3 separate regions of the Homo sapiens genome follow, and all the other regions are linked to region 1. Evidence: promoter capture Hi-C in human tissues and cell types (Jung and others, 2019). All regions are on one chromosome and are shown on one strand. The core of a region is centred on a gene start or on the middle of the fragment in contact, and the rest is flanking DNA. Distances in the headings are between cores, read along the strand shown. Region 1 holds the start of EPHA7 (EPH receptor A7). Region 2 overlaps EPHA7 (EPH receptor A7). Region 3 overlaps EPHA7 (EPH receptor A7).

Region 1 (3,778 bases), core at 150-2,649:
GGGGCGACGGGATGAGGGGGGTTGGGGATGGGATTGTGACACTGCTCAAAAGCAAGAGACTTCCATTGACAGGGTTTATTTTTCCCCAGCTCCAACTACAGGCACCGAAAGGTATTTTACCTTCTGTCAAAGGTTCAAAGAAGGAAAACATAACCATATACAGGCGTATCTGTAACAGCTTGCCAAATAAAACCTGCCTTCTCCTACCAGAACCAACCCTCAGGGTTCAGGTCTTTGGCAAGGATTGGGCACTCGGATTCCTCAATTGCTGCACTATGGGGCAAATAATTGGGGACTTTGAGTCGCCCAGGCGGCATCCTTACAAATTGCACAGCTCCAGCCCGCCCCCTGCCTCCACGGCCCGACCAAGCCCGCTGGGCTGCCGCTGCCCCCATGACCGCTGGGCCCGACGCGCAGCGCGCGCTGAATGGAGACATCCCCGGCCCTCGGGTCGCGCGCCGCACGCCGCGCTTCACCTCCGCGGCGTTATTGTTCCGTGCTGGCGGCCGAGCGCCAACCGCAGGACCGCGCCGCCGCCTCCGACGCAGTGAGCACTTCATTAGTAACCCGAGCTTTCCGAGCTCATCGAAGTCTCGGTCCCTCTGGGAAGGCTCCGGGCTCCCGCCACTCGCCGGCGGGCTGGCGGAGACGGTAGGGGCTGCATTTCCCAGTCTCCAACCCAACTCTGGCCGCAGCTCCCACAGAAGGCGAATAAGGAGACAAGGAAGACCGAGCTAGAGAGAGATGTGACCCGCCTGAGGTACTAAGAAATAAGCTCGCCGGCAGTTCCTCCAACCCCACCCCACCCCCGTTGCTGCTCACGCCCTCCAGACTGCCCGCGCCAGAAATCCCGCACCCGTCGGATGGACGGCTCCGGGCACAGGGCTGTAGGCGGCTCGGAACAGCCCTGGTTCGCGCTCGCTGGTCCGCCAGGAGCGGCCTCAGCGGTGAGGGGGCGGGGAGCCGGCGGGGGAGGGTCGCCCGGCGCCGGAGGCGCGGCCGGCAGCGCCGCGGACGAGCTGGCTTGTGCAGGTAGACATCTAAATAAATAAGTCAGAACAAACTTTGCTTTCCCATCACCTTACCTTCCTTCGCAGCCTGCGCCTCCCCTGTGTGTGCAAAGCGGAGCAGCCAGATGTAGCATAAAATAATCCATGAAGGGTACCGAGTTTGAAAAACCATGGTGCATGAGCAGGTTTTATTTTAGGTTTCAGTTATCTTGAGTCGTGGATTTTTAAATGCTGTTTGTTCCGAAGTAGCTTTTGTTTTATTGTGCTCCTTGCATCGATTCCCCTTCTCGGTCCCCGATCGGCTGCTCCACGTTTAGCTTTTTTTAATTTCCCCCCCACTCCTGTTCGCTCGCACCGTGTTTGCTGCCTGCAAGTCTCCGACTGCAGACCGGCCGCTTGCTCCACACTCCAATAATATCAATTAGGGGGGGAGGGGGCGGGGCTCCGAGCTGAGAGCCTCCGCCACTCGGGCTGAGTGGCAGGCACAGCCGGCCTGCCAGGAGGCGATTCCCAGGGCCAAGGGGCGGGTCCCGGCGAAATGGCCGCCCCGGCCACGGGGGCGGGGTCCGAGGCAGGAGCCAATCGGTGCCGAGCGGAGTCAGGTTGCTGGTCCAGGATTCCCTCCAGGTTCTGAGCTCGCGCTGGATGTTCAGAGGAGAACGAGGATGGTAGCCGAGGTGTGTGCTGCTTTGGACGCTCTGCTTTTAGCAACCGCAGCTTTCGCGTAGCAGAATAAATCCGAGAATAACGCTCCCAACTTACACTCTTTTCTATAGCTGTACTCCGCGCGATCTTTTAGAAACCAGAGGCGAAGCAAGCCTTCTCTCAGCTACCAAGCACGGAGCCCGGACAGTGAAATGAGCTGTGCCTTTAAGTAAAGTGTGTTTTACTTTTTTGTTGTTAGAACCTCCGCGGGCTGGGTAACTTTGTTTTTTGCCTTTTTGAAAAGTTTCTACTTCTCTTTTTCTGTTACTCCAAGAGCCGTCAGTTTTAGGTACCACCCACCACAATCCCTGAAAGAATAAAGTAACCAAGTGTATTATGTTTAAACAATGTTTCCAAGAGTTTGCAACAAGCTCTGGCAAAAGAAACAGAGGAAAAGGGAGTGGGAAAGGAAGTCTTTTGTTTTAAGCGCCCCTTCTCCTCCGCCCTGTCTTTTCACCATAGTTTGTTGAGCGAAGTGAGACATTAGGAGAGAACCTTCTGATGGTTGCGTATCGTTTTTTTACGCGTTTATCATTTTCTAAGGTTTTCCTTGGATTGCCTCCACTTTGATAGTTTTCCATTTCGCTGCATAAATTACACTGAATTTTAAAGAATGCCACTACGTATTAAATTCATAAAGCAAGACCTTTCTCTTCGCAAGTATTTACCATTTTCAGGAATTATTCAATGCTTATCTTTCAAAGAGAAACTAAGAATAAAAAAAGTCATAACCAATATCTCCAGTTGAATTCATTCAACCCGAACGGCAAGGAAGGCTGCGTAGAGAAATCTGTTTTCCATTAGGCAGTTTCGGACACTTTGTATTCAAGAGGTAGGTAATAAGAGGAAGAACTTTAAAATTTTAATTGCCAAATCTTCAATTTCAAAGGTCACACAGAGTAACTTGATCACATGTTTAAGATGAATTTCTTTTTTTGTCCTATAATTTCTTCCTTTAAAAATATTTCTCAGTCATTTATGATTTCCTTTTATTTCCGATAGATCCAAAGTTTGATCTCACATAAGGCTCCAAACTTTTTCCAACCTTTCTATCTGGAAATATAAAGTAAATTGAGTTGTTTCTGCTTTTTATAGTAGGGAGTTCTCTAAGATGACAACCCCCAGATATTTATTTGTATTTTATGTTAAATTGTCTCCTGTAGTTTTTATTTGCCTAATAAAATAACATGGAAGAGAGATATGAAATTTATTCTTTAAACCTCTTTGATTCTGTAGTTTCTGAAACATTTCTTCAATGTTACATATTCCTAGCCATTATGCCTATTTAATATTTTAGAAAGTGTATCAAAAAGCATCTTCAGTGTCCCTTAAAGGATGCATAGAAAATGTAAATGCGTAATAGATTAACCTTAGAAAGAGACAAAAAAAAATATGGGGAGAACACACTTGTTATAGAGGAGATGAAGCTTTATTTACACAAATAGATGATTTAAGGATGAAACTTGTAAACTAAAACATAAGAGTTAAAAACATAAATCCCTGCACTTAGTCTTTAGAACTCACAGAACTACAAACTTACAAATATTAAACCACTTCTAATAGTTAAAACGAATTCTCCAGGATTTCAACACTTTCCCCAGGGTCTCATCCCCACTTCTTAAAATGACACCAAGGTGGCCTTTAAAGTTTAAAATATTCCTTTCATCTATTGAATGACTAATACTCAATGATGTGAATACAAATACTTTTCCATTAAAACCAGGAAACCAAAGAAGTAACATCCTTCACTCCTCTGATGAGTGTAGGTGGTATAGTGAGTCCTCTTTTTGTGTCCCTTCTCTCTGTCAGACACAGGGGCATGTGTAACTTTACTCTTATTTTTAGAGACAAGAAGCTTCACATTAAATGCACATGTGCCAGGCTGCTGACAGTTCTCCCTGCATAGCTGCACAGTGATACTGATTTTTAGGTTTTTCAAACTTCTCTTCTTTCTTTTGTAGTATCTAGATATATTGACAAAGAATTCGGAGCATTTAAATAAAAATAAATGACAGTCAAGAAGACAGTGTTCAGCATACAGTATATGATTAATATATAAATTT
Region 2 (3,815 bases), core at 789-3,288, 69 kb before region 1:
AGATCAACTTGTCACCATAACCTCAACATAAGCCTATTTCATTACAAATATTAACCATATCAGAAAAGGATAGTTTTGACAACTCAGAAAGATACTGGGACTGGAGATCAGGGAGTTGAGGTGGCAAGATTAGGGTGTGGGGATGAGAACACAGGTTACTTAGAGGTATTTCCTTATGTATGTTTTAATTGAGAAGAGTCATGGCACAGTGATGTGCTGTAGCCTTAAAGCTGTCACCAAACCAAAAAAAATACAAAAATATTAAAACCTAAATATACCAAACTATAAAAAATATTAAAATAATGTATGAAAAGCTGATATTATGTTCCTAGGTACTAAAGAAAGCATCTCCAATCCTGATCTCTGTGCTTCTACATATTCAATGTTATATAAAAGATATAAATTAATTATATTTTCAACAAGCTTTCAAAATATGAAGCATTACGAAAGTTTTCAAAGTTAAGGTTTATTTGTACCTTTAATATTTTATAAGAAGGTTAAGCTTTTGTTTAAAATTCCTGTGTAAATACCACATTATGGCTGTAAACAGTTTAAGATTTTAAATATATTTACAGTTTTAGGACCAAATTGCAAAATGACTATACTTGAAATTATTAACTTATGTACTCATTGCATAATTTAAATAACATTATATCATTTGAATTAAATTAATGTCTTCTGTAACAACCTAGATAGTCTAAGAAATTTTCTTTGCATATTACAGTATACAAAGAATTTATGTACTCAGCCAACAAATATTTACTAACCATCTACCCTGGGCCCAATATGTTGATGGGGCTAGAGAGTATGATCAAAGGTACCGCCATTTTCCCCTAATGAAGCCTAAGAGGAAAGATAAACTTTTCACAACTAATATGTGAAGAATATTACAAATATATGATACACTTAGTATAAGACCATATCACAGAAACATGTAATTTTCTCTTAAACTTACATGATAAATTCGGAATGTGAAGATACTGTGCAAACATATGGGCCTTTACGTGTAAAGGAATCAACATGTTTTATACTAAGCACTACATAAATCCTGGTTATTAGTATTAATGTCAACATGGTAGTATGTTACCTAATTAAAATTTTATTAAAATAGTTATCTAAAATATCATCCTTTTTGTATGTTTTAATAACTTACAGCCACTAAATAAAAATGTAAATGTATCTATATATATATGTTTTCATATTTATGGTGTCACAAAAATACTTAAATAAATTTCACTAACAGTCTAAAGTTACTCCTTGTTTAAGCAAAGCATATGAATTACTAAAATGTCATGCCCTGCAGGGCATGAATTAGAATGACTAAATCCTGCACTTTCGGATACCTCAGGTTTATAAAATGTCTAAATGTAACAGAAATGCATATTTTGAACAGTTTACTGTTAAAGGAAATTTATTCGATTGATTCTCTGCTGCAGACGGCATAGGTGTACATATGAATGTATGTTTTAATAACAATAACACTATCTCTACAAAATGGTTCCTGTTTTTTGCATTTATATATTTTTAACCTAGTGATAAAACAATTATGCCTTGTTTCACCCTGTGGAGAATGCTGTGTTTAATATTACTTTATATAACCAATAAATGTTCTAAAATAAGAAAATATATTTTCTCAATATCATGTTCCTTTAAAATATAAATCAATCTTATATATTCCTAACAAGTATAAAAATATACAAATTTAAATGGAATTAATTTACTTATTAAAAGACATATAACTTGATGTGTGTCCATTAAATCATTGAAAAGAGACGATCTACGTTAATTTATGAGAAAACAGTCACAGTTGAGTCACATTAATTCATGTGAGTGAAGCTACTTCTGACAAATAAAGAAAATGATTGTTGGTTTTGTCTTTTTTGGGGATAATTTTGCTTATGTATAATGTTATATCACATGACTCAGGTTATATTTCATCTGGTACATTATATAAACATTACAAATCAAAGTAAAGGGAATACTGACGCAAACCTTTATTTTGGCTGAGAAATTAGATCTGGGCATTGAAAAACACAGGAAAGTCGGTCAGTTTAAAATATGCAAGGCTATTTTTAAAGTTTCTTGAAGAAAGATAATAAAACAGTAATGAGAAGGCAAATGCTATATTTAGCAATGCTATCCCACAAAGATTACATTTGTTAATATTCTCAGGAAATAACACTTCTTAGTAGGTCTCCTTTTCACTTAACAGCTCTTATCACTGACCATTAAACCAATCTGCAATTTCTCGTGTAATGGATTATGGAGCTACATTTTTAAAGATAGCACTCTATGGTAAGATTGCATAAACAATAATTTTGAGGTAAGAAGTGTATTTGATTGCAATCATTTGGGTCATCACTATATAATTTACCGTGTGACCTTTGTAAAGTCATTCGAACCCTCAAAATTTTACTTTTAAAATGATATCAGTTCTTGTCTTAACAACTCCACAAATTTAGTTCAAATTTTAATATAATCTGAGTGAGTGTCATATAGATCATTCATCCATACACAACAAAATTGATGATGGGGATAAAACATAATTCTTTTTGAGAGACTCTAAAGAGACCTTTGAAGATAGTTGAGATGTCTCCACACCCTGATGGCAGATTCTTTGAAGCTTTCTTATATTTTCAGAAACTGTATGTTTTGCACATTTTTTCCACAGTAACACTAGGCAGGAATTTTTTTTTTTAACAAACGACTATATGTAATATGTGAAATGTACTGCGGAAGATACACAAAAGTTTAAGTTAAACCAGGGTCAATCTGTTACTTTCCTGTTCAAAAACACTCCGGTTTCCCCGCTGTCTATCAGAAAAGATTCTTTTCCTAAAAATAAAAATTCCCCAGTAATCTTTCCCACAAATCTTTATTCATCCAGTTCATACCATTATTCCATAATCACACTCTGAATGCTGCCACTCTTATTCTTTTGCATAATTTAACCCTCTATAATGGATATTGTAATGGGCTGCCCACATTCTCCTTAGAAAAGCACTGAAGAAATTATTTGCCCAGCTGCCGAGATATTTGCCAGAAAACAGGCCTCAGTTCCCTGCCTCATTTAGAATTTCCTTTCTGAAAAGTAACACCTTGCTCACTCCTAGGAAAAACTGCAACCCATGTCTGGACAACATAGACGTATAAAACTGTCACCTAGGGACAACCTGAGGGTTCATTACAGGTAGAGCACTCCCCATGGAGTTGGCTGATGATTCCAATGAGACCCCATCACAGCTCAGCCCTGCTCTGCTTGGTCCTGCTTGCTTCCCTTCTCTCTGATGGTGTTGATCCCAAACATTCTTCCTAATAAAACTCATGCACGCTAATCTCCATATAAGTATTTGCTTCCTGGGGAGCCCAACTTGAGAAACTATCCCTAACCTCTTTCAAGAGGTTTCAGTTTTCATCCTAATTCCTTCCAGATGCTTTCCAGAGCGTTAAAATAGTTATCACTCTCATTAAGAACTGTAGTATATGTACAGTATCACTCACCTATTAATAGTGTACAGTGAATAGTGTAGCATAGTGATACGTTTGTACTCTATACTGAGTTACTACTTTATTTATTTAGTTATAAATATATGTGGAGGTCTGAGAGGTCTTATGTCCCAAATCTCTCCGTTGCCTATGGGGAAAATATGAGGCCAAAAAAGGTGACTCAACTTTGACACTCTTTTCATGCACATTTTACATTTCAAAAAGTACCAGGAACATAGTAAGTGTTCAATAAATAGTAATATTTTAATTACTGCTCTTATAATTGTTTCAGGACAGTAACACACCTTTTTATTCTAATAAATGTACCT
Region 3 (3,705 bases), core at 1,127-3,626, 110 kb before region 1:
GCTTTTATATTAGCAATTTTTATGTGTTTTTTTTTGTCCACAACTATTTCTATAGCTTCCCTATTACTTCCTGGTACAAAATATATGTATGTAGAATCAATGCACAACTGAAAGTGTTCATGGAAGGAAAGCATGAGTTAGACCTTATAGGATGGGGAAAGATTTGATTAAGCAGGGTGAACAGTAAAAGACCAAAATAAAAGTAAAAGATGGTATTAGTGAAAGGAGAAATTATGAAAGTAAAAGTCCAAAAAAAAAAAGTAAGAGGCTGAAGCAGTTCTGCTATCCAGAATTCAGTGAATTAAAATTTCTTAATAATATTATGAATCCCTATAGGGGTTATAAATCATTTTTTAAAAGAAATCATTCCTCCTACATTTCCTCTATAAACATTAAAAGCCACTCAGGCAATTCCAACCTAAAGAGCCTGTGTGAGAAAGAAATATTTCCTGGTAACCAAAGAAGCAAAATACATACAATTAAAGTATGTATTTACCAACAACTAGTGACTCTGAGTGTGGCTTTCTTTTTCATTCTTCAATAAAATTTAATGTTTATTTAGACTTACTAGACATATTGAGGTTACTGTGAAAATAATACAGACTAAACTACCTAGTAAATGAAAACCATAAGTAATTAATTTATTTCATTACCTACGGGAATAGATTTTTTTGTTTGCTACTGTCAATACCTCTACTAGAGCCACCTTTGCAAACTTATCTGTCAGAAGAAAATAAAAAAAATTTAAGTTTCTTCTTTGTTGTCATATAACCTGCATGGTCACACAGATATAATAGTATTTTATATAGTCACTATTATTCTCATTAAGAGATATTCAGTACTTACCTAGAAACTCCTGGCTTTAAAATAAATCAGTCTATACAATGGATATCATAATAAAATATCGGAATATAATTTATTTTGGTCTAAAAAGCAGAAATACTTGTTAATATTTTTACATAAAAAAGGGCAGTGTGAAAATCACTATTTATGCAAGAATCATACTTACTTGAACTAAATTAGTCCAAACATGTCTCTAACTCTAGATGGATTTTTTAAAATATAATTTGACTGCAGAATTTTGTAAGTGGCCTACAATTTTTCTCTGCTTTTATAAAGTCTCCCGAAATCCCAGTTGAATGACTTTTTATTTTGCTGATAGGCCAGAGAATGTATTGAGAAGTTTACATTTTATCTCACTTAATATGATAAGGGTACAATAATGTTAGCTTCTGTTGGGGTGAAAATATAAAAAAATGTCCTCAGGGAATTTGCCAAGAATCATGTTTGCACAAAGTACTAAAAAGTTTTAGGAATATATTTCTTAAATATCCAAATGGATTAATTAAAGCAAATAATTTCTTTTGAACTAGCCAATCCCACAAATGTGTGTGCATGGCACAGTATGATGGACTTAAAAATGACAAAACCAAAGGACTCAGAGTAAAACAAAGACCTAAATAAAGCTAGGTCATATTTCATGTAAACTATGTTATACTGAACTAAATATACATTTTAATGTAAAACAAATTCCAATGTTTAATAAAATGTTCAGTTTAAGTCAGTTGCTTTCACTTTTCCTGATTTCTAAACTAAATCCCATGTGCAGTTCAAATCAATATTTATCATGAAATGTGTAAATAATACATCTCCTATAAAAATAATCAAATTAACTTTCCAAAGCATTAGACAATCATCCCTCAGTTTTATTTTCACTATGCTACAATTTGAACCGAATTATGACCTATTGTAAGAATGCTTAGTTTTGGTCATCATGTGAAATAAATCAATTCCCTCTAGAAGGAGAAAAAAACTCTCTTTATGAAGATGGATCAAATAAATTCTACATTTTAGTAGCAATTATAATTAATTTTAACAGAAAATATCATAGGGGATTGACACATTTAGAATTGCTCATATCTCCATTAAATCATAATATAATACTATTGCATAAAAGAAGTATAATTATAATATTTGAATACAGGACTTAAACATAACTGCTAATAAAAATAAATTCAGTCTATAAATTATCAAACCCATCTAAACTGCATCTCTTTATAAAGAATATTTAAATAATGATACCAATTATTGCATCAACCAAATGTTAGATATTCTGTATTTTTTTAGAAAATCAACCAATGTGACAATATGTGGTACCAAAAAGAAAAAAAAATTCACCATGATAGCAAACATAAATACAAAATTCTAGTTAAAAGACACTGTCCACATCATTTAACAGAAATAAATGAAAGATAAGAAAGCTTTGAATGTATTTAGGTAAAAGTTGTTCTGACACTGATAACACATTGAATAAGCCCTATGCAGTGATTTCTAGCTTACTCTGGGCTAAACCATTTCCACAATCCTTTAAAGAATAGGTATTGTGGAAAATAAAAAGAAGGATGTAATCCCACTTTTTTCTTCCCAAAATAGACAGATTCTAAGGATTGAATCTATTCAATGAAAACTAAAAAATAATTTCTAAGTTTTACACTGTAAAGCATGCAATTCTGAGCCAAGTTTATTTGCACTCCCCTTAGGCTGACTAATACAGATTAAATCTTATGACATTCAGATTAAGTAGTTAGTAGACAGTGGAAAAAATAAATATGGTAAGATATGTATGCACATATATTACATATTCATACAGACCAATCATTATGCTTATGTTTTAATTCCCTAATGAGTGGATAAACATGTACTGTCCTCTTCATTTTGAGGATAGTACTACTACTCATCCATACGTTGAGCTTGGGAGAAACCAGGAAGATTTAGTAATAATGAGAGTAACTTCTATGGTTACTCAAAAATAGTGAAAGTAGTAAACAATATCTACTTAGTTCTCAAATATCAAGACTTTTTCCCGATGAATATGGATTTGTGCACTTTTGTTCAGATGTCATCACTATCAGAATAAAGAGAGAATATGATCCTGAGTTGCTGTGCTCTTGGTGCAGGGTGTAGGCTGGGAGAAATGCTAGTGTGCAGAAAAAGCTAACAATAATCAGTCACCGAAAACTGGCACTGTCCAAACAGAAAGCATATTCTTTGTATCTCATGAGATGCTGACCATTTTTAATCTTTTGAGGTTTAATCACTCGAGTGACATGCTTACATGATAATTCAAACTGTCTCAGGCTCTAACTGTCAGCATCCCCTCTTGCTCGGGATACTAGGATTTTTTCTCTGTGGTTTGATGATTGGAGTACACAGGCTTTTCAACACCTGCTCTGGCTACTGTAGAATAGATTACATTATACCAAAGGAAAATATATCTTATTATTTTTTGCTGTTACAATTAGAAGCACTACTTTATTTATTTACTTTTTTTAGAGTTTGATCTAAAAGCCATTAGGAATGATATCTTTAAACATGTGGTGTGTATGTAGGACTGGGAAATGTTGGACCTAAATTTCTCTGCTGTAAGATTCACTTAATATGTTAGTATATCCCTTTCTGAGATGTACACAGAAAGGAAACAACATCTTACTTACGTGTTTATTTTCAAAGAAAAGATATATTTGAAATTTATTTGTTAAAAGATGTTTGAATTATTTATAAATAATTGTCAAACTAGTTGGGACTTTTAAAATCTACACATAGGTATTCAACTATATAGTTAAGAGTTAATAGCTAGTTAGGAATATACTAACATACTAAGTGAATCCACAGCAGAGAAATGTAGGTTCAACATTTCCCAGTCCT

What was found. Contacts are between HindIII fragments. The study calls those that stand out against the background at their distance.
Region 2: a fragment that was not itself captured here is called in contact with the fragment with the promoter of EPHA7 in region 1 in 2 of the 25 tissues and cell types used here (heart left ventricle and hippocampus).
Region 3: a fragment that was not itself captured here is called in contact with the fragment with the promoter of EPHA7 in region 1 in 2 of the 25 tissues and cell types used here (dorsolateral prefrontal cortex and mesenchymal stem cells).

What each region holds. Positions count from the first base shown.
Region 1 is chr6:93,418,160-93,421,937 of GRCh38, forward strand. It overlaps EPHA7 (EPH receptor A7), which reads right to left and starts at 1,400. Exons shown (of 17, transcript NM_004440.4): 1 at 1,086-1,400. The coding sequence starts at 1,182. RefSeq lists a silencer at 1,448-1,647. The HindIII fragment of the contact is 11,378 bases long and covers 1-3,356 here.
Region 2 is chr6:93,348,059-93,351,873 of GRCh38, forward strand. The region is part of intron 5 of EPHA7 (EPH receptor A7); the gene reads right to left. Among named protein-coding and RNA genes, the nearest start is that of EPHA7, 70 kb to the right of the region's middle. The HindIII fragment of the contact is 4,485 bases long and covers 1-3,815 here.
Region 3 is chr6:93,305,077-93,308,781 of GRCh38, forward strand. The region is part of intron 5 of EPHA7 (EPH receptor A7); the gene reads right to left. Among named protein-coding and RNA genes, the nearest start is that of EPHA7, 110 kb to the right of the region's middle. The HindIII fragment of the contact is 6,151 bases long and covers 1-3,705 here.